Regions from separate parts of the Homo sapiens genome. Here regions 2 and 3 are each linked to region 1. The links are contacts of gene promoters, found by promoter capture Hi-C in blood cells and fetal thymus (Javierre and others, 2016). All regions are on one chromosome and are shown on one strand. The core of a region is centred on a gene start or on the middle of the fragment in contact, and the rest is flanking DNA. Distances in the headings are between cores, read along the strand shown.

What was found. The method cuts DNA at HindIII sites, captures the fragments that hold promoters and counts their contacts. A CHiCAGO score of 5 or more calls a contact.
Region 2: a contact is called between a fragment that was not itself captured here and the fragment with the promoter of ALDH1A2 in region 1, in 1 of 17 cell types (endothelial precursors). The highest score is 6.8, in endothelial precursors.
Region 3: a fragment that was not itself captured here is called in contact with the fragment with the promoter of ALDH1A2 in region 1 in 2 of 17 cell types (M2 macrophages and M0 macrophages); the score reaches 6.1 in M2 macrophages.

Annotation. Positions count from the first base shown.
Region 1 is chr15:58,064,336-58,067,287 of GRCh38, forward strand. It overlaps ALDH1A2 (aldehyde dehydrogenase 1 family member A2), which reads right to left and starts at 1,376. Exons shown (of 13, transcript NM_003888.4): 1 at 1,199-1,376. The coding sequence starts at 1,315. It overlaps ALDH1A2-AS1 (ALDH1A2 antisense RNA 1), which reads left to right and starts at 890. Exons shown (of 3, transcript NR_147215.1): 1 at 890-1,407; 2 at 2,480-2,599. RefSeq lists enhancers at 394-913, 914-1,433 and a silencer at 2,042-2,231. The HindIII fragment of the contact is 8,256 bases long and covers 1-2,602 here.
Region 2 is chr15:57,881,096-57,884,047 of GRCh38, forward strand. No RefSeq gene overlaps it. Among named protein-coding and RNA genes, the nearest start is that of POLR2M, 180 kb to the left of the region's middle. The HindIII fragment of the contact is 364 bases long and covers 1,259-1,622 here.
Region 3 is chr15:58,217,634-58,220,585 of GRCh38, forward strand. No RefSeq gene overlaps it. Among named protein-coding and RNA genes, the nearest start is that of AQP9, 81 kb to the left of the region's middle. The HindIII fragment of the contact is 1,626 bases long and covers 553-2,178 here.

The DNA.
Region 1 (2,952 bases), core at 126-2,625:
TAAATCCATCTAAATCGACATTCAAAACACAAATCGCCCTGATTTGTAACCTAAAACTCAATGCAAGTAAAATCTCAATATTCTGATGTTGTTTCTTGTATATCTCATTCAACCACTAAGCCAGATGCAAACAATTTACTTCTCTACAAAATTTATCTTGTAAAAAAGCACGATGGAATACATCTTTAATCAACCTTTAACCATATGCATGTGCGTCTATGCGTTTGCGTTAATTGGGAGAAGTTGAGTGTAGAAATGTACCGAAAGGACTAGAAAATCAAACCAGAGAACTACAAAATGAACTCCAAGAAACGTGGTTTTCAATCCCATCTCTCTCTCACCACCTCCCTCAAAATGTTGTAACATTACAATACCCCTACGTTTGTAATCGATCATTTTTTTTCTATGTCGAATTTGTGGAAAGTAAATTCATTTTATATTAGGTAGCAGACGCATATTCTTTTTTAGGCGATGCAACAACAAAAATCCTGCTTAGCAAACCCAAGATGTCAACGTTCGTTATAAAAAAAAAAAAGTAAGTTCTTCAGTTCAAAACCGAACATGCTAACAAATATTAAAACTTTTTAAGTTTCCCAGGGAAACTGCCGCTGCCTACAAAATTCACATGAAACGCTGACGTTGGAGTTACTGTACTTATCAGTCAGGTTTCCGTGAAATTTGTCAAACCGGCCAGAGCGCTGGTGTCTTGACAATTCCTTACGGGAAAGCCCCTCAGCACCCTCCGGGCTGTGGAGGACCTGATTGGGACCAACAGCCGAGGGGCCCGGAAGGCGGAGGACCGAGAGGCGACGGCCAGGCTGCGTGGCCAAGCTGACGGGGAACCCCGGCCTCCATCTGAGGATACTAAGCGGTTCCGACGCCTTCCCCCGCGGCAGTCGGGACCGGGAGAATCGGACAGAAACCAGCCTCAGAGTCCGGGGCAGGAGCCGTTGACGGCTGCCCCTCAACGCTGCGCTTCGGGTTGGGTTAAGTCCCCAAGGCGTCCTCAGACCACGGCGGGGCTTCAAACGCCCCAGTCCCGAAGACAGGCAGGGGGTCCCTCTGCTGCGCCGGGATGACAGGCTGGCCCCGACGACCCCGGCCCCGTCCCGCAGCCCTCACCCGCTGAAGAGATCGGGGAAACCGAAGAAGGTTCTAGAAAGTCTCCGTGGACGACGGGCGCTGGGCGGCCGCTTACCTTGGTGTACTTAATTTCGAGATTGGGCGTGGGCGACGGCAGGAGGTGCAGCGACGCCATGAGGGCGGCGGGGTCGGCCTTCACCTCGCCGGGCATCTCTATCTTGCTGGAAGTCATGGTGGCGGGCCGGGTGTCCCTAGCCCGCGGCGTGGGGCAGTGCGGGCTGTGCGCGCGGTCCGCGGCCCGGGGGCGCGCTCGCCTGTATATAGGCAGGTGTCAAGCTGGGGCTCTTCTTATTGGACGTGAGGGCCGAGGCGCGGGGGGCTGGTCCATCCTACCTAGGACGCCCGGCGCAGCCTCCATTTACATAAAGCCCGCGCCGCGCGGCCGGGACGCTTGGCGCCCACGGTCAAGTCCGCCCGGCGCTCCCGCCCCCCGGCCGCGGAGACCAGCCCACGCCGCCTCCACAGTCCTCGACGGTGGGAGCGGAACTTGCGCCGCGGCCCGCGGGCCTCGGCCAGCCGGACTTGGTCTCCGGGTCCCTGGGTCAGAGTCGGCGGGAGGCGCACAGCGGCCGAAGTCGAGCGAGGGTCGTGGCCCCCGGAAGCGGAGCTGGCAGGGGCTGGCGGGGACCGGAGCGGCCCGGTGCTGCTTCGGAGTAGAGAAAGGCCAGGAAAGTCCAGGCTGCGGAGGGCGGCTCCCAGCTCGCCCACGTTCCCTCCCATCCCCGTCCCAGGACCCACCGAACCCCGTCCCCCTTCCTTTCCGGAGACCCGGGAGGGCGTCCTCCGTTCTCCTCCTCCGGGCAGGGGCGCCAGGCTCTCGGCAGCTACGCCCTCTCCCCCGACCCCCCGACTCCCCTCAGCCGGGCCGAGGTGCATGGTGGCCAGAGGGTCAGGGAGAGGTGGCAGTGGGTGCGAGTCCCCCTCGCCTCGGGCTCAGAATGAGGATCCCTGCGAGCGGGTCAGCGCGGGGCGGCCCTTGCCAGGCGTCGCCCGCCCAGTTGCTGCCCTCTGCCGGCCGGGACCGCCCGGGCGGCTTGCGCTGTGGCGGGAGGATATGGGCAGTGATCATCCCCGGCTCCTCCGAGGAGCTGCATGCTTCGTGGGCTCCTTTAGTTCTTCTCGGATCCCCTCTTCCGGCTGTTTCCCCTCCTCACCCAGCACACCCACAGAAACACTATTTTGTTTTTCTGTTGTTCCTTACACGCTAAGAGCTATCGTCCCGCCAGACCTTAGGCTCATTTTACTGTCCCTTTGGGATTGAGTTTCCATCTCCCCCCTAATCTAAGTGTTTCCAAAGTCTAACAAGCTGCCCTCTAGTCTGTGGATCGGCCTGCAGGTGTAAACCAAGAACCTAGAGACCCTGCCTCAGAATGGGCTTTGGACTCCGTGGACTAAATCAAGGCCGCATGGAAAGACCTGCATAAGTCCCTTCCCTTCCTTACTCCTCACTCCAAATGTAAGCTTGACAGGGGCCTACAGTGTTGATAAACGCTTTTTCTACACTACCAAGCAACACTGTGATTCTCGTCTTTTTGTTTTGTTTGAAGAGACAGGGTCTCACTCCTTCACTCAGGCTGGAATGCAGTGGCACCGTGACAGCTCACTGTGATCTTGAACTGGGCTCAAGTGACCCTACCACCTCAGCCTCCCAAAGTGCTAGGATTATAGGCATGAGCCACTGCACCCGGCCTGATTCTCATCTTAAATGCCATTTTTAGAGCCGCTGGAGTCCCATTTCTTGGGCGTTAAGAAAACATTAAGCATCAGCCAGAAAACATCTTTCCTTAGATACTTTGAGTAACTAAAACT
Region 2 (2,952 bases), core at 191-2,690, 180 kb before region 1:
TTCTTGGTTCGATATTGTATCTGGCAAACTTGCTGAACTTTCATGTTAGCTCTATTAGTATTATTCTGTTGGTTCTGTTGAGTTTTTCCAGCTATGTTATAATAGCTGCAAATAATGACATTATCTCTTCACTTCCAATCTTCTTACTTTTTTTTCCCTTTTTATACATTGGCCAGGCCCTCAATTATTATCAACATGCTTGACTTCTTCCCAATCTTAAAGGAACTTTCTCACAGGCTTCCTGAACCCAGAGCCAGCTACACGGACGGCATACAATCTGTACAGACACACAGTCCCCCAGCTTGGTGTCTTGCTGTCACTGTCTTGTGATCATAACAATATTTGGAAAAAAAAGTCCCACATTTTCAGTGTGCATTGCGCACTGCAACTTACATAGCTGGTTCCGTCTAAACAGTCAGTGTGGTTATAAAGCAAAATCTTTAATCAAGAGTCAGCAAAGTGGAATTTCTACTGAGAGGCCTTGCCCTAACTGGCTAGGAAAATGTGTTTTTATTGACATGCCATAGCTGTGTTTTCATTCTTCTTGCTAACTAGACTTCTATATAAATAGACTGGTTTGTCTTTTTTTTTTTTTAAGTCCATGTTAGCATAAATATGTTTTAAGTGACTTTGTGGCTGAGCCTAACACAGAATGGGCCATGAGAACTCACTTTTTCTTATTACTTCAGAAATCCAATCATTCAGATTAGCAGAAGAAGGCACCTAAGATGGTGAGCATGGAAACCATTACAAGAGACAAAGACCTCTCTGACACTTCCCAGGGAAATAGTTATTTTTCCCTTTTCTGGGAAACAAATGGGCTTAACCAAGTACGGCTGCCGTCCCAGTCCTCAGGGCAGTCACACTAAGCTCTGTGCACCCTTTCCCTGTTCCATGTTCATAACATTCCTGTGAAAAGATGCTTCTGGTCCAGGAATTTTGCTTCCTTGAATCTATGGGAAACTGAAGAGGCACTGGCCCATTAATGGTTTCAATGAGGTAAGACAGCGCCTGCCCCAGAGGAAGTACTGAAAGTGGTCAGAACTCCTCCCCCATGAATTAGTTTCCAGGCCCTCCTTTGGAGATTGGCTGTGGGTTGTGGGCCAGCCCCTCCAGGGCTTCTCTTTACGCAAAGGAATTGAGATAGTACTGAAGTCCATTTCTTCTTGGCTGGTCAAAGCATCCCCACCTTTGGCAGAGGGCTGGAAGTTGAAGCAGCGTCTCAAATGAGAAATGAAGGAAAATAAAAACAAACAAAAGCTTCAATCAGCTGACAAGAGTCCATTTGAGACCTCTCTTACAGAGGGGAGTCATCTCTACATCTGGCAGTTCTAGAACAAAGACTGTGTGCCTTCGAGGGGAATTGAGAATGGGGTATGCGCAGCCCAGAAACGAGCATGAGGGGATGTGGTACAAAAGGGACCCACATATCTGTGGCCTGCAGAGGGTAGAACCAGGGGCTGAGTTTCAGCTCAGTAGAGAGCAACTTTCTACCTAGGGCCCAGTTGAAGCCCAGCTATTCGTATGGTAAAAGTGTAGGCGTGTTTGGTGACATTCAGACTTTTTCAGTTGAAATATAACAAATATTCAAAAAGTGCACATATAAGAGAACAGCCCTTTGAAGCTTTACAAACTCTACACACCTTTGTATCTAGCACCAAGATTGCAAGCAGCTCCCCAACAAGTCCCTGTGCTTTCTCCCAGTCAAGATCCCCTTGCAAGGTGGACCCTCATTCCAGCTTCAGGGATTCCCTGGCTTCACTCATTCTGTACTTTATAGAAATGGAGTGAGACCCTTGATCTTTGTTTTGGTCTGGCTTCCTTGGCTCACTTGCATATGTGAGATTCAGCCACATTGCTGCTGGTATCTGTAGGTGATACATTCTTGTTATGTGAATATAGTAGTGATTATGTGTCCAGTCTACTACTGATGGGGATTTGGGTGGTTTTTGATTTGGAGCCATTATGAACACTCTGCTGTGGGTAATTGGTGAGTATATACACACTTATTTCTCTTAGTCATATACCTAGGAGTGGAATTGCTGCATCATAGGGTGTGCATACATCGAGTTTTAGTAAATACTGCCGACAGCTTTCCAGTGTATATACCAATTTACATTCCCACCAGAAGTGTGGGAGTTCTGAGGCTTTATAACCTCCAAAATGCTTTTCACGTTTGCCACATGACATATGCCATGTGGCCATTAGAGATACCTGCATGTCAGGTAAGCCCATGCTCCTTCTTTGCAGTCATTAACACCATGCAGGAGTGAATTCCCTTGGAGCTTTTTCTGAGAGATTTTGACAACAGTCAGGATCAGAGCAGAACAGTGCACACTTGCTGGCAGGGAAAGGAGACTGGAATGGCAGGTGGGCTGGAGGGTTGCTCTTGCCCGCCAGCACCTCAGCTATGGCCTGCAGGTTAAGCTCCTTCTGCTGTCTGGTCTGTGCCTGGCCTCAGCTGTCGCCCTGTGAGAATCACAGGTTTGGCACTTGTCCCTAAGGCTTTGCTTGGCCACTGAGCAGAGACCCAGTCCGCAACATTCTCTGGGGAGGAAGAGAGAGCAGTGTTGATGTCCCCAGTCTCCAGGGGAAGAGTGGAGCCCCCAGCCATGAAGCCCCTCATCAGCTTCTCTGTCCTGGTCCACAGCCTCATCTCCCCACAACCTACCCCCCAACTTTCTTCTCTACTTTTCTCCAAAAGGGGAATTATTTTGCACATTTTCTTTCCAAGTCCAAAAATAGGAAAGAGAAGGGAACAGCTAATCTGGTCCAGCTGCTGGTTTTGCTACTTAACAAAGATATTTTTTACAGTAATTTTCTCTCTGGTTTTCCCTTACATCTGCACAAGCTCCCGCCTCCTGCCTCCCACTCCCCACACATACACACCCTTTACAAAACTACTTGCTCTAGAATCCAGAGAAAGTGTTTTCCTCAGCTGCCTGTAACTAG
Region 3 (2,952 bases), core at 116-2,615, 150 kb after region 1:
CAACAAGATCTAGACAGTAAGTACGTTCATTGCAGCTAGGTGTCACTACTTGTTAGGCCATTCAAGTGGGCAAAGCAAGGAAATATATGTGCTCAAGACTCATATATTCAAATTTAATGTAAAACTTTTTTTATCTTTTTTTTTTTTTTTGAGACAGAGTCTCGCTCAGTGCAATCTCAGCTCACTGCAACTTCCGCCTCCTGGGTTCAAGCAATTATCCTGCCTCAGTCTCCCAAGTAGCTGGGACTACAGGTCCATGCCACCACAACCAGCTAATTTTTGCATTTTTTAGTAGAGACCGGGTTTCATCATATTGGCCAGGCTGGTCTCAAACTCCTGACCTCATGATCCACCCGCCTCGGCCTCCCAGTAGGCGTGAGCCACCACACCAGGCCAACTTACTGTATTTTCAAATTTTATTTTCCATTACAGTAAAGTCTTGATTCCCAATAATGTTACTACGCCTACTATTTGCTTTATCATTATAATAGTCATATAACAGTTTAAAATTAAATACTACCATTCCTAAAAACCAATAAATATACCACATAAAGCTTTAGCTGCCTTTGAAAGTCTTCTTCTTAGAATATATTCCACTGAGGGATAGTCAGCCAGAGTCCTGATATCAAAATGTATTTGAATCAATTATTTTTTCTGTGTGGTTATTTAATTTTTATTTATCATCATTATTATTATTTTCAGCTTTTATTTTAGATTCAGCGGATACATATGCAGGTTTGTTACCTGGGTATGTTGTGTGATCCTAAGGTTTGGGGTATGAATGATCCTGTCACCCAAGTACTGAGCATAATATCCAACAGTTCATTTTTCAACCCTTCTCCCCTCCCTGCCTCCTCTAGTACTCCCCAGTTTATATTGTTGCCATCTTTATGTGCACAAGTATCCAGTGTTTAGCTCCCACTTATAAATGGGAAATATGCAGTATCTGGCTTTCTGCTCCTGTGTTAATTTGCTTAGGATAATGCCCTCCAGCTGCATCTATAATATCGCAAAAGACATGATTTCATTATTTTGTTATAGCTGCATAGTATTTCATGGCATATATGTACCACATTTTCTTTGTCTAGTCCACCACTGGGCACCTAGCTTGATTCCATTTCTTGGATACTGTGAATAGTGCTATGAGGAACACATGAGTACATGTGTCTTTTCGGTAGAATGATTAGTTTTCTTTTGGATATATAATCAGTAATTAGATTGTTGGGTTAAATAATAGTTCTAAGTTCTTTGAGAAATCTCCAAACCACTTTCCATGGTGGCTGAATTAATTTACATTCCCATCAACAGTGTATAAGTGTTCCCTTCTCCCCACAGCCTTCCCAACATTTGTTGTTTTTGACTTTTAATAATAGCCATTCTGCATGGTATGAGATAATATCTGTGACTTTGATTTGCATTTCTCTGATGATTTGTAATACGGAGTATTTTTTCATATGTTTGTTGGCCGCTTACATGTTTACTTTTGAGAAGTGTCTGTTTATGTCTTTTGCCTATTTTTAATGGGATTATTTGTTTTTTTGCTTGTTTAATTGTGTAAATTCCTTGTAGATTCTAGATATTAGACTTTTGCCAAATGCATAGTTTGCAAATTTTTCTCCCATTCTGTAGGCTGTTTGTTTACTCTGTCGATAGTTTCTTTCTTTAATTATATCCCACTTGTCAATTTTTGTTTTTGTTGCAATTGCTTTTGAGGACTTAGTCATAAATTCTTTCCTAAGGCCCATGTGCAGAATGGTGTTTCCTAGGTTTTCTTCTAGGATTCTTATAGTTTGAGGTCTTACCTTTAAATCTTTAATCCATCTTAAGTTAATTTTTGTATATGATAAAAAAAATAGGGATCCAGTTTCATTCTTCTGCGTATGGCTAGCCAGGTATCCCAGCACCATTTATTGAATAGGAAGTCTTCTCCCCACTGCTTATTTTTGTCAATTTTGTTGAAGATCGGAGGGCTGTAGGTGTGCAGCTTTATTGCTGGGTTTTTTTATTCTGTTCCATTGGCTTATTGTCTGTTTTTGTACCAGTACCATGCTGTTTTGGTTATTGTAGCCCTATAGTATAGTTTGAAGGTGGATAATGTGATGCCTCCAGCTTTATTCCTTTTGCGTAGGATTGCTTTGGCTATTCAGGCTCTTTTTCGTTCCATATGAATTTTAGAAAAGCTTCCTAGTTGTGTGAAAAATGACATTGATAGCTTGTTGGGAATAGCACTGAATCTGCAGATAGCTTTGGGCAGTATGGCCATTTTAATGATACTGATTCTTCTGATACATGACCATGGAATGTTTTTCTATGTGTTTGTGTCATCTATGATTTGTTTTGTAGTTCTCCTTATAGAGATCTTTTGCCTCCTTGGTTAGATGTGTTCATAGGTATTTTGTTTTTCTGTGGCTATTACAAATGAGATTGCATTCTTGATTTGGCCCTCAACTTGAATGTTATTGATGTGTAGAAATGCTAATAATTTTTTTACATTGACTTTGCATCCTGAAACTTTACTGAAGCCATTTATCAGTTCCAGCAGCCTTTTGGCAGAGTCTTTGGGGTTTTCTAGGTACAGAATCCTGTCATCTACAAAAAGAGATAGTTTGACTTCTTTTCCTATTTGGATGTGTTTCCTTTCTTTCTTTCTCTTGCCTGATTGCTTTGGCTAGCACTTTCAGTACTATGTTGGATAGGAGTGGTGAGAGTGGGCATCCTTGTCTTGTTCCAGTTTTTGGCTATTTAGTGTGATGTTGGCTGTGTGTTTCTCATAGATGGCTCTTATTATTTTGAGGTATGTTCCTTCATTATCTAGTTTCTTGAAGGTTTTTATCATAAAGGGATGTTGGATTTTATTAAAAGCTTTTTCTGTGTCTATTGAGATGATCATGTGATTTTTTGGTTTTTATTTCTATTTATGTGGTGAATTACATTTATTGAGTTGCATATGTT